Linked DNA regions of Homo sapiens: regions 2, 3 and 4 are each linked to region 1. The links are contacts of gene promoters, found by promoter capture Hi-C in human tissues and cell types (Jung and others, 2019). All regions are on one chromosome and are shown on one strand. The core of a region is centred on a gene start or on the middle of the fragment in contact, and the rest is flanking DNA. Distances in the headings are between cores, read along the strand shown. Region 1 holds the start of CDKN2AIPNL (CDKN2A interacting protein N-terminal like). Region 2 overlaps PPP2CA (protein phosphatase 2 catalytic subunit alpha). Region 3 has its middle 17 kb from the start of PPP2CA-DT. Region 4 overlaps PPP2CA (protein phosphatase 2 catalytic subunit alpha).

Region 1 (3,230 bases), core at 443-2,942:
TTAATCACAGAGTGATTACCCCATCATCCAGAGTGTGAATATTTTAGATGGGTAGTAAATGATTTTTAGGGTAATTCAATGGGCTTGAAGAACATGCAATGGCCTGGGACAAAGTCTGTTGGGCCTGCAGAGGAGACAAGGGTTTGTGACAAAAGTCTGTCCTAGTGTGTTGACCATACTTCAGTCTTTCCTCCTGCAAAACAAATTCACTTAATGAAAACTCAGGGAGGGAACCAGAGATAATTGTTTCCTTTGGCGTTCTGGACTAAATTTAGGCAGATAAGGGAACAACTTCATCTTGTGCTTTGGGAGGAACAAAGAATTGACAGACAGGAGTGTGTGTTGGTGGCGGAGGTCACAGAGACCTTGAGGCTTCTTCATCAGTTCAGCATGTCAAAATACATTTTGGGGTGTTGGTTTCTGAGCCCCAACACCCAGTTACTGTAGTTGAATGCTTCCAGGGATGGAAAATTCACCACTTAAAAGGAAGCTCTTTTTTCTCTCAGTGTGTCTGCTACCTGAGACTCGAACAGACAGCAGAGTCATGCCAGCTAAATAAAAACTTTCAGGTCCAGCCAGTTACGATGGCTCATACCTGTAATCCCAGCATTTTGGGAGGCTGAGGGAGACGGATCACTTGAGCTCAGGAGTTCGAGACCAGCCTGGGCAACATGGCGAAACCCTGTCTCTATTTAAAACCAAGTCCAAACTTGCTCATTTCCTCTGGACACATTGTTTCTGGCTCCTTCCAGCATCTTTTGTAAACACAGGTGTCACTGTTCTGGTTAAAATCCTTCAGCGGCTCCCCATTCTTGGGATCTAGCCAGGATCCCTGCCTGGCCTACTGGCCTTGCTGACCTCTGCAACTTCATCTTCTCCATTCTCTACCTGCCCTGCCCCGCCCCCCAACCCCTCCTACCCCCTATCTTGCAATTCTCTTACCAGGCCATGCTCTCTCTTGCTTTGACCGACTCCCCTTTACTCAGAAAACTGCTCATTCTTCACTTCTCCAGGATCACTTCCCTGACCCCAAGACTAGATTGGGTCCCTTGCTTATTCATGGTTGTAGCACGCTGAACTTCTCTTTACTAATACTTGTCAACGCTGAAATTCTCCATTTACTTGAGCAATTATGTCACTAATGTCCACTCCTCCACTCCATGGTAAAGTTCAGGCGAGCAGGGCTCCGAATGTGCTCTCATTGCCTCTCCAGCACCTAGCAATGTGCCTGGCAAGTATTCACGGGATGGATGGATTACTCGCTCCAGGAAGGCGGGCCCCAACCTTCGTGGCTGTGGAGACCCCTGGAAGTCGACCGTGACCCGGGCCCCCTGATGTCGCTCAGGATGAGGCGGTGCCCGGGAAACTCTCAGGGCAAGGGCACAGCATAGCTCTGGCTGGCATCCAGCTGCCAACTGGAAGAGGGCGCTCCGAATCTGTGTTTAGGGACCTCAGTTTTCCCACCGGTTCCCCGCAGGGTCGACCGCAAAAGACCCTTGTAGCCCTGGGTAGACCCAGGGCAGGAGCCACGGGCTGCGGCGGTCTGAGGAGCCAGGAGCCGCTCTGTGCCCCCGCAGGCCGCCGCTCCGGGCGAGGGCGCTCCAGGTTGGTCTTCTGGAGCAGTCGTGCGCTGATGGGGCCCCTCTGGCCGGCAGGCGGTGGCGCAGTGCGCGTCGGGAAGGCGGCGGGCTATCCGGTCCTCGGCTGCGGCGGGCACCATGGTCGGTGGCGAGGCGGCTGCCGCAGTGGAGGAGCTGGTTTCGGGGGTGCGGCAGGCGGCCGACTTCGCGGAGCAGTTCCGCTCCTACTCAGAGAGCGAGAAGCAATGGAAGGCCCGCATGGAATTCATCCTGCGCCACCTGCCCGACTACCGCGACCCGCCCGACGGCAGTGGCCGCCTGGACCAGCTGCTCTCCCTCTCCATGGTCTGGGCCAACCATCTCTTCCTAGGCTGCAGGTGCGGACCCCTGCCGGCCGGCTGATCCTGTCCCCTATCTTCCGACCCTCAAGGCCTCTCCCAGGGCTCACCCCTGACCCGAACCTCTGCCCCAGACTGAACCCGGGCCCAACCTCCATCCGCATTGGTCGGCCCGAAGACTGATTCCCACCCTGGAGGCCCCTTGGAAAGATCCTTATCTTTGAGCCTCAGTTTTCTCTTCTGGTAAAAGGGTGGTTATGATGGCTGTAATAATTAAAGGGTGAAGAGCTAAATACATGGCGGGTTCAAAGGTTGCTATTGTTATTTGTATTACTATTATTATTAGCTCAAACCATCACCTTTGCAGTATGCATTCGAAGTCCGTTAGCCCCTGTCACCTACATGGCAAACGTGCAGAGAGAGAAACGGAGATCCCCATTTTACAGATGAAAAAGCTTAGGGAGAGAAGTGATATACCTGGGGCCATGCAGCTTCTGGCAGGATTGATGGATTTTAATCACTAATGAGAGGATGTAATCTGTATCCTATGGCTTTTTCTCCTCACTCCACAGCCCACGGGGTCCTAAGTAGGAACCAGCTTCACCTCTCTGCTTTCCCTCTTATGAAAATGGCCGATGCCTTTTTGTGAAGGTCTCAAAGCCCACTTCATCCTGGCTGCAGCACCAAAAGGACAAAGGCCCGCTTTTGAAGTGCCTGATAAGGCATTCCTTTCACCCCTCCATGAGGAAGGTGGCAAATCTTGAGACTCCCTATTAGAGAGCTTCGATTTTCCTGAAATTGTGTTAGGAAAATAGGGTGACTTGGTTTGATCTTGGTTTCTATACCTATTATGGCTGCCTGACTCTGGTCATTTGGCCCCTGCAGGCCTAAGCCACTTGGTTTTGCTTCACATATTGGGGTTTATTAGAACAGTACGTAGGGAAGCAATGCCAGAGGCACCCGTCCCTTTTCCCTGCCTTCTAGGTGCTCCTGGGAAATCCTGGTTTTCCATGGTTAGGCAAATGTCAGAGAATTGGGGAAATAAATAATGTTTTTGTTAGACTAACATTCCATGTATTTAAAAAATAAAAATATTTTGGTCCTCATCCTGTATCTGAGAATATCTGTTGCTGGATGTACAGTGCCTCTGTTCTTCTAAATCTTGAAACATCTGCTGTACTGGTATTTCTGAAGTCCACTTCTGTATCTACAAGCAAGAAGTGTTCACAGGGCCAGGCACGGTGTCTCACGCCAGTAATCCTAGCACTTTGGGAGGAGGATCACTTGAGGTCAGGAGTTGGAGACCAGCCTG
Region 2 (3,107 bases), core at 202-2,701, 200 kb after region 1:
GTTTGATGCTACAGAGAAGACAGGTTAGGCCTGCATTGACGTTTTTCATCAAGGGCAGAATTGATGATACAGAAACTTGATTTCTGTCTAGGCATGGTGGCTCATACCTACAATCCTGGTGCTTTGGGAGGCGGAGGCTGGAAGCTCACTCGAGACTAGGAGTTTGAGACCAGCTTGGGCAATGTAGTGAGACCACCGTTTCTACAAAACAAAAAACAGGTTTCTTTAGTTAAGTATAAATCATTGATCTGTGATTAATCCAAACACTTTTTCCTCAGTATAGACCTTGGGGTTCTTCGGTGTTTGACTACCTTCTTTTGAAGGAAACCACTTTTTTTTTTTTTTTTTTTTGAGGCAGTCTCACTCTGTTGCCCAGGCTGGAATGCAGTGGCACAATCTCAGCCCACTGCAACCTCCGCCTCATGGGTTCAAGTGATTCTCCAGCTTCAGCCTCCTGAGTAGCTGGCATTACAGGCATGCACCACCATGCCCAGCTAATTTTTGTATTTTTAGTAGGGGAGGGGGTGTTTCGCCATGTTGCCCAGGCTGTTCTCAAACTCCTGACCTCAAGCGATCCACCCACCCTGGCCTCCCGAAGTGCTGGGATTACAGGCATGATCCACCGTGCCCACCCGAAACCACTTGTAATATACCTTTAGGAGAATGCTTTTAGTTACATCATGATCCCTTTCATGTAGCTAACAACAAAAATGAATATTAACCCCAAATATTGGAACTCGTATTTTGAAGCAAGTTATTTCTTGGTATACTTTAGTGCCAGAATTGGTACTGTTATGTGATTAACTGTTTTTGAGACTAAGAAAATATTTTGCTGGACATCTGATGAAATTATCTTAAAAACAGTGCTTGGGTGTTTTCCCTGGAGTGTAGTGGCAAGAGTACTCTGTTGTCCATCAGAGCCACTTGCTGCTCTCAGCTGGCCTTGCTGTTGAATGGCATAATCTGATTTCGTTGGAGTACCCAAGTCCTAAGATTTGAAGAATAAGGGTTATTATCTCAGTCTCATCTTTTCTCTGAGATAGCATTTGTTCAGGAAATGTTATCTGTTTTCAATGGTGAAGGGAGTGAGAGTCTGCTTAGGAGTTACTGTATACATTAAACATTGGTGACCGGACTTTAAAGAATTAGAGGCTAGGCCTGGTGACTTACACCTATAATCCCAGCAGATTGGGAGGCCAGGGCAGGAGGATATCTTGAGCCCGGGAGTTCAAGACCAGCCTAGGCAGCATAGTGAGACCCTGTCTCTACAACAAAATTTTTACTTTTTTATTTTTATTTTTATTTTTATTTTTTGAGATGGAGTTTTGCTCTGTCACCCAGGCTGGAGTGCAGTGGCATGATCTTGGCTCACTGCAACCTCCACCTCCTGGGTTCAAGCGATTCTCCTGCCTCAGCCTCCTGAGTAGCTGGGACCACAGGCGAGGGCTACCATGCCCAGAATATTTTTGTATTTTTTTTTTGGTAGAGATGGGGTTTCACCACTTTGGCCAGGCTGGTCTTGAACTCCTGACCTCAAGTGATCCACCTGCCTCGGCCTCCCGAAGTGCTGGGATTACAGGCGTGAGCCACTGCACCCAGCCCTACGAATAATTTTTAAAAATAAATTAGTTGGGTGTGGTGGCACACCTGTGGTTCTAGCTACTCTGTGAGGCTGAGGCAAGAGGATTGCTTGGGTCCAGGAGATCTAGACTGCAATGAGCTGTGATCATGCTACAGCACTCGAAGCCTGGGGAACAGAGCAAGAACTTGTCTCAAAAAAAAAAAAAAAAAGTAAATAAATATTAGACACTTCTCAAGCCCTAGGTCCCAATTGATTGATTTTTTTTTTCTTGGATGCAGGATTCCAAAATACTTCAAGGTCATTATTAAACATTTAAAGTTAATGTCATAATGTTAACGATGCAAGTTTAAGATGCTGATATAAAAAGAAGCTTGAGTAGTTGTCGTGTAATCTTAGGATTAAAGTATAGATTTTAAAATGAAAAACTCTTAGAAAATGGCAAGACGTGATAACTTTTCTTAATAATTGTAGGAGAAAAATTACAAAGCAAAAATGGGCATAGAAAATTTCTGGCTATATATTTAAAAAATAAGAGAAACAAAATGCCAAAAAGTTACTTAAAATAACAGTTTAAAATAGTTTATACAAATACTTCAGAACATCATCTAGCTCTTAATGATCAGATGTTCAAAAATATTCATGGACAACTTGTATAAGAGGAGAAATAACTGATGGTAAATAAACATGGAATAAAAAGTTTGTACTCAGAAATGAAAAATGCCAATTAAATTAGTGATACCACATTGTATATCTGAAATAGCTGAGAATGAGTATATTCTTTCATTTATTATTGTATAACAAATTGGCATAATTGAGTTTTATAGTACATATGAAACAAAAAAAGTTAATGCTATTTTGCCCTGTAATCCCACAATTAAAGCTTTTTGAAAGGAAATAATTCAAATGAGCAATAATACTGTACACGTATAGGTCTATTTAGAAGGGCATTATGTAGTTTTAAAAAATCACTATAATGTAGAAACGAGTTAGTATGAAACTTTAGGACACAAAATGAGATGCCAGTCAATTATAAGTAAGAGGTCTGTGTGGGTAAAAACTGAAAGGTAATAGAAATGAGAAGAGTTCTGGTTGGTAAGAATAAGATAGTTATATATCTTAAAGCTTTCAGTGAAATCTTAACCTTTTAATTTTTTTTTTAGCCTTTTTTTGTTAGTTTTGAGAGAGAGTCTTACTGTGTTGCATAGGCTGGAGTGCAGTGGCACGATCTCAGCTCACTGCAACCTCTGCCTCCTGGGTTCCAATAATTCTCATGCCACAGCCTCCCAAGTAGCTGGGATTACAGGCCTGTGCCATCTTACCTGGCTGATTTTTGTATTTTTAGTAGAGATGGGGTTTTACCGTGTTGGCCAGGCTGGTCCCAAACTCTTGACCTAAAGTCATCCACCTGCTTTGGCTCCCAAAGTGATAGAATTACAGGCGTGAGCCACTGTGCCTGGGCTTTTCAGCCTTTTTTTAATGCAAAGAATTGTGACATGGTTGTAATCATTTTGTGCTTTTATTTATT
Region 3 (3,338 bases), core at 506-3,005, 170 kb after region 1:
TCACCTAGCTCGGAGCCACTATTGTTCGTATAAGGTACAACTGCCTTGCTGACACTGTGCATACAGCACACACCCAGAGAAAGAGAGAGAGCCAAAGCTCTCCATCTAGTAGATGGACAGAGGGGAGCCAGGGCTCGGCTTGACTTGTGCCCAGAGAGAGAAAGAGTTAAGCTGCTGACCCCATAGGGAGAGCTGGCTGTGCAGCTGTGTGTGGGAGCGGCAGGAGCCGCAGAGCCAGAGCAAGCAGCCAAGACAGAGACAGACGGTGTAAGAGAGCCGCTGAATAAAACCATACTTCATCTGCCTGCAGCCCTCTGAGTGTTCTTTCAGCTATCTGCCACCCATCCACCCACTGCCTTCGGACCTCAGCATGGACCAGAACCTGACCCTGGGCATGACAACACTTCACATGAATGCATACATACAAACCAAAAAAAAAAAAAATATATATATATATATATATATATATATATATATGTATATATTTGCACCATTGCACTCCAGCCTTGGCGACAAAAGCAAAACTCCGTCTAAAAAAAAAAATAAAAGAAAAGTAAGGGGCTTTGGATGGACTGATCATAGTATAATGAGCCATGAACTGAAAAGTGCGATTAACTTAATACTCTATACCTGAGCCCTAATAATTTCTTTTTTTTCTTAAGTGCTCTGGGCCTTGCCATTTGACGTTTTCCTCGACCCAGCTGTTGACCACTAGCATGGCTTTAACAGCATGATCATAGCTTTTTAATAATCTTATTGACAGAAATTTACACCTGGATTCTGTGAGCTGTCTTATAACACGCTGACCTTTATCAAACTCAGGGATATATGATGCTGTCTTGCTCTTTTGCTATCTTGCTCTTTTTTTTTTTTTTTAAGAGACACAGGTCTCACTATGTTGCCCAAGCTCGAATGCAGTGGCTATTCACAGGCACAATCATTGCACACTACAGTCTCAAACTCCTGGGCTCAAGTGATCCCCCCGTTTCAGCCTCCTCAGTAGCTAGCACTACTAGCTGAACGCCACTGTGCTGGCTTTTCCAGCTCTTTAAAATATTTGAAAGTTACCTCGTTTTATCTGTAGTTTTTTAAAGTTTCCTGATGCCCATAAACAGAAATGAAACCATGTACTTTCTTGGGGATCTAACTAAAATGCAAAAGCTATGTTAATGAGGAATAAGCACCACAAAGAATAAAAGAAAACCCCTAATTCTGTTTGGGCTGGTTTCCTAGAAATCCTGTGCCCACTTTTTGCATCGAGCCAAGGCTGGCAATATGTGGATAGGGCTAGTCCCTCAGGCATTGAGATACAGTGCCTCAGCTTCTTCAAAGATAGGTCTAGAACATTCTAGACCAATGCAATCAAAAAGTACCTGGTGGAGCCAGGCATGGTGGCTCAAGCCTGTAATCCCAGCACTTTGGGAGGCTGAGGAAGGAGGATTGCTTGAGCCCAGGAGTTCAAGACCAGCCTGGGTAACACAATGTCACTACAAAAATTTTAAAATTAGCCTGGCATGGTGGCACACACCTGTAGTCCTCGCCACTTGGGAGCCTGAGGTGGGAGGAGCAGTCGAGCCCAGGAGTTCAAGGCTGCAGTGAGCTATGATTGTGCCACTACACACCAGCCTGGGTGACGGAGTGAGACCCTAACTCTAAAACAAAATAAATAAATAAAAAGTACCTGGTGCTAAAAATTACACCATTTTAGGGCCAGGCGTGGTGGCTTACGCCTGTAATCCCAGCACATTGGGAGGCCGAGGCAGGTGGATCACCTGAGGTCAGGAGTTGGAGACCAGTCTGACCAAAAAGTTGAAACCCCAACTCTACTAAAAATACAAAAATTAGCTGGGTGTGATGGCAGGCACCTGTAGTCCCAGCTACTTGGGAGGCTGAGACAGGAGAATCGCTTGAACCTGGGAGGCGGAGGTTGCAGTGAGCCAAGATCATGCCACTGCACTCCAGCCTGGGCAACAGAGCAAGACTCTGTCTCAAAAAAAAAAAAAAAAAAAAGTTACACAATTTTAAAACAACATTTGAGTCAACCCAGCATCATTTTTGAGATACTCTAAGATATTTCTTGGCCTACTTGTGTGTGCCTCTTAAGCTGAAACAAGCCCTAGTATTCTCTAAAGTAGCATGTGTTCCATAGATACCCAATAATTTCAAGTTAGGTTAAATGACCTTTTACCATCCATGTGAGGACTCCTCTTGCCTATATGGTATCTATGCATATTAGAAAAGGTGCTTCTTCATCCTGGAGATGCAGTCCCACAGTAAGGCACAGGTGTGGCAAGTAGAGCTGGATTCATCTCAGCTCGTCTCCTTGGCTGTTCATGGCACAGTATGTACAACTGTAGGATATGGCCCTGCAAACAAACTCCACCCTTTCTCTCTTCCACCAGGCTTCCATTGTTTGCAACATCTTTCCTGGCTGGTGGAGGAAAGGCAGGCTCAACTGATGGTCCTAATCTCCAATGGGGGCAATAATATTGCCCACCCTACGTGCTCTTTTGGAACTTTGCTACTCTAAAGGTAGAGTCTGATTCCACTCTCTTTGAGTCTGGGGAAGCTTGTGACTTGTACCCAACAGAAGACAGCAAAACTAACACTCTGTGATTTCTGAGGTTAGGTTATAAAAAGTGATACAGCAGCCAGGCACGGTGGCTCACACCTGTAATCCCAGCACTTTGGGAGGTCGAGGTGGGTGGATCACCTGAGGTCAGGAGTTCGAGACCAGCCTGGCCAACATGGTGAAACCCTGTCTCTACTAAAAATACAAAAAATTAGCTGGGCGTGGTGGTGCATGCCTATAATCCCAGCTACTCGGGAGGCTGAGGCAGAAGAATCACTTGAACCTGGGAGGCGGAGGTTGCAGTGAGCCGAGATGGTGCCACTGCACTCCAGCCCGAGTGACAGAGTAAGACTCCATCTCAAAAAGGAAAGTGATACAGCATCCACCTTGTGGCTGGAACACTTGCATTTGTAGACCTAAGCTGCTATGTAAGAAGTTTAACTTGCCATTCTGTGAGAAAGCCAAGGCACAGAGAGAGGCCATGTGTAGGCGCTGTGGTCAGCAGTCCTAGTTTTTGAATGCGTCAGGCCCAGCCACTGACACGTGAGTAAACAAGACTTCAGCTGCTTCTAGCTCCCAGTTGTGAAGTCATCCTCAGGCTGAATCTTCCCAGCTGAGTCCCTAGACAGCTTGGAGCTGAGAGAAGCCATCCCCAACTGGGTCCTTTCTGAATTCCTGACCCATAGACTCTGTAAACACAATAAATGGGTTGTTATTTTATGCCACTAAGTTTGGGGTGGCTTGTTACACAGCAATAATAACTAAA
Region 4 (3,096 bases), core at 64-2,563, 220 kb after region 1:
CATATTAACTTGTTTGTAAGAAAGGAAATCTGTGCTGCTTCAGTAAGACTTAATTGTAAAACCATATAACTTGAGATTTAAGTCTTTGGGTTTTGTTTTAATAAAACAGCATGTTTTCAGGTAGAGCTTAAACTAAATGATGTGTTTACTTAGTGCAGTTTCTGGTTATGAATATTATATTGCTATGTGTATATTATATGGACTCTTTAAAATGATTGACAGATTGGCAAATTCTTAAATCTTTGTACATTGTTGAGTCATATGTTCTTAGAGTTAAATTTGTCTCAGATAAGAAAGTGTTAAAGCATTAGCCTGTGTCAAGTTCTTTGAGTGATACTAGTGAAACCAAATAGAAAACTATTGTTGGATCATGATTTAGTCTTATGTACATTCACCCGAAGACAAAAATGGTACTTAAAGTGGCAGTGTTCAACATTTAATGAGTTTTTCCCCTTTTATCCTTCGAATAGGATTAGATGTTTAAAAAAAAGTTCTTCTGTGGGAACTAATATTTGATATTTTAACCTACCAGAGTAAACAGGAACACTTAATCATACTTGTGAGTGTAGTAAATAAAAGTTTTCTTGCTTTGTGCTGTGTTGAATCTGGAACCAACAGGGAAGTTATAGCATATCCCCTTTCTAAAATGCTTGAGGAACACATACATACCGAATGTCTTTTCTGATCTAATTGATAGTATTTTTAGTGGCTTGTGGAGTTAATTTTCCAAAGCAAAAGGCCATTAGGGTTTCTACATTTCATTTCATTTCATTCTTTTCTTTCACAAGAAATACATTCTCTGTGTGTCTTTTTGTTGCTCTGTCACTCTATGCCCTTTCTCTCCGACTGAACAAATAGCTTATCCATGTGCAGTGGTTTTAATACCCAAACAATCTAGACACCAAGCAGCTATTTTTTCCGGTCCTGTGATATCAGAATTGACCAAGGAATACGTATATTGTAATTGACACGTGGTGGTATCTTCCAGGTACAAATTCTCTAAATTTTGTGGTTAGCAGAATGGGACTTGTGATAAGAATAGCTTGGTTTTAGCATAACTAGGGTTTAAAATAATTGTTTAATTATAGAGACTGACCGGGCTTTGGCCATCTAAACTGGAAAGTGTTAGTACCCTACCTTCTTTTGAAAATGGCTATGGTAAGGAAAATGTGTTAGTAAATTATGTATTTTCTTGAAAAATACATAATTATGGTTGGATGGGAATCACTAAGTTGGGTGTTAACTGATGTCTCAATTAGTAACATTAGGATTTTCATTAATAAACCTAAAAAGCTTTCCCTAAGAACAGGCCTGGCACAGTGGCTCATGCCTGTAATCCCAGCACTTTGGGAGACCAGGGTGGGTGGATCCCTTGAGGTCAGGAGTTGAAGAGCAGCCTGGCCAACATGGCAAAACCCCATCTCTACAAAAAATATGAAAATCAGCCGGGCTTGGTGGCATACCATAGTCCCAGCTACTTGGGAGGCTGAGGTGAGAGGATCGCCTGAGCCCAGGAGATGGAGGTTGCAGTGGGCTGAGATTGTGCCACTGTACTCCAGTCTGGGTGACAGAGCCAGACCCTGTCTCAAAAATAAAGAGGATTCTGAGTTTGTATAGTGAGGGCTTGCAGAAATTTTGAAACTTATTTTGTAAGTTTACAATGAATTTGTACATGATGTGCTCATGTCTTGGGTTGAGTATCCTAGACATGATTTTTTCATTTGCTGCATATTAAACATTTGTTGGTTGTAGTCGGTATTTCTTAAATAGAAGTTTGTCAATATTAGATTAGTTTCAAGAAGGACTTAGCTCAGGAAAAGGATAGTTATTTCTGTGGTTCTCAGCTTTGATGCCTACAGAGATTCTGATTTAAATTGCTGGAGGAGGGCCCAGGCATACATTTTTTAAGTTTCCCAAGTGATTCTAATTTACATCTAGGGTTAAAAACAGCCAGGCGCGGTGGCTCATGCCTGTAATCCCAGCACTTGGGGAGGCCGGGGTGGGTGGATCACCTGATGTCAGGAGATCGAGACCAGCCTGGCCAGCGTGGTGAAACCCCATCTCTATTAAAAATACAAAACTGACCGGTGTGGTGGCAGGAGCCTGTAATCCCAGCTACTTGGGAGGCTGAGGCAGGAGAATCACTTGAACTCAGGAGGAGGAGGTTACAGTGAGCCCAGATCGTGCCATTGCACTCCAGCCTGGGCAAAAAGAGCAAAACTCCATCTCAAAAAACAAAAACACCTCACTGCTGTTTCCTAAGTACATACTTAAGAAAATTGGGATACATGGTGGTGGTTCATGGATGTTGATAAGGAATTAAAATGTACCGTGCGACTCTCTGTTTCAGTGGTGACTTTTACCTGTTTAGTATAAATATTCCTTTGCTTCCAACCATAAATGTGTTCTTAGAAATGGGCCTATAGTTTAGTAACCTATAGTTTGGTAATAGGCTTGTTTGTTTTCAGATGGATTTTGGTTCTGTGAGCTAAAGCTATTTTGCATTAAAGCCTTCGTCCTCACACATTGTTTTGACATATTTCTAGTCTTCATAAACTTTTTTAATTTAGATTTTTTTCCCTTCACAAGTATACATCTGTTTTAGCAAATAGCCTTATGAAGGTTGTAGATGTATTATTTTGGGCATGCCTGGTGATTTCTATATTTTTTCCAATTACATTTAAAGCTTTATGTTTTAGGAATATAAGTACATTTTATTTCTACTTTTTATTATATATATTTAATTGCACAAGTACTACTGTCTAGAAAAAAATGGGATGTTGCTAACACAGCATTGTTGGCTTGTAGGCAGTGCTGTCCTGTAAATAGATTGAAATGTATTTTTATCAGCTGGTATATAAATTTGAGGAAAGAAAAATGTGGACTGTGTTTGAATTGTTTAAAAGTTGAACATACAAAGATCAGTGGTAACCAAGTAAGTGATATAGGCAACAGACCCCAGTTTGTTTTGTATTTGCTGTCATGCCTGGACCAGAATTCCTCATTCCCAAGAGTGAAAGAGGAAATAATTATAGCTAATGAGTGAATGCTGGAAAAAGTCACACTTTTTTGTTTTTTAAGGAAAAGCACAAACCC

The links. The method cuts DNA at HindIII sites, captures the fragments that hold promoters and counts their contacts. A contact is called where the count stands out against the background at its distance.
Region 2: a contact is called between a fragment that was not itself captured here and the fragment with the promoter of CDKN2AIPNL in region 1, in 2 of the 25 tissues and cell types used here (hippocampus and small bowel).
Region 3: a fragment that was not itself captured here is called in contact with the fragment with the promoter of CDKN2AIPNL in region 1 in 1 of the 25 tissues and cell types used here (small bowel).
Region 4: a fragment that was not itself captured here is called in contact with the fragment with the promoter of CDKN2AIPNL in region 1 in 1 of the 25 tissues and cell types used here (heart right ventricle).

Annotation. Positions count from the first base shown.
Region 1 is chr5:134,410,343-134,413,572 of GRCh38, reverse strand. It overlaps CDKN2AIPNL (CDKN2A interacting protein N-terminal like), which reads left to right and starts at 1,692. Exons shown (of 3, transcript NM_080656.3): 1 at 1,692-1,957. The coding sequence starts at 1,719. RefSeq lists enhancers at 824-1,561, 1,549-2,038, 1,562-2,300. The HindIII fragment of the contact is 17,979 bases long and covers 1-3,132 here.
Region 2 is chr5:134,213,782-134,216,888 of GRCh38, reverse strand. All of the region lies in intron 1 of PPP2CA (protein phosphatase 2 catalytic subunit alpha), which reads left to right. Among named protein-coding and RNA genes, the nearest start is that of MIR3661, 10 kb to the left of the region's middle. The HindIII fragment of the contact is 5,715 bases long and covers 1-3,107 here.
Region 3 is chr5:134,242,086-134,245,423 of GRCh38, reverse strand. No RefSeq gene overlaps it. Among named protein-coding and RNA genes, the nearest start is that of PPP2CA-DT, 17 kb to the right of the region's middle. The HindIII fragment of the contact is 9,275 bases long and covers 1-3,338 here.
Region 4 is chr5:134,193,760-134,196,855 of GRCh38, reverse strand. PPP2CA (protein phosphatase 2 catalytic subunit alpha) reads left to right here. Exons shown (of 7, transcript NM_002715.4): 7 at 1-2,524. Among named protein-coding and RNA genes, the nearest start is that of SKP1, 18 kb to the right of the region's middle. The HindIII fragment of the contact is 4,633 bases long and covers 1-3,096 here.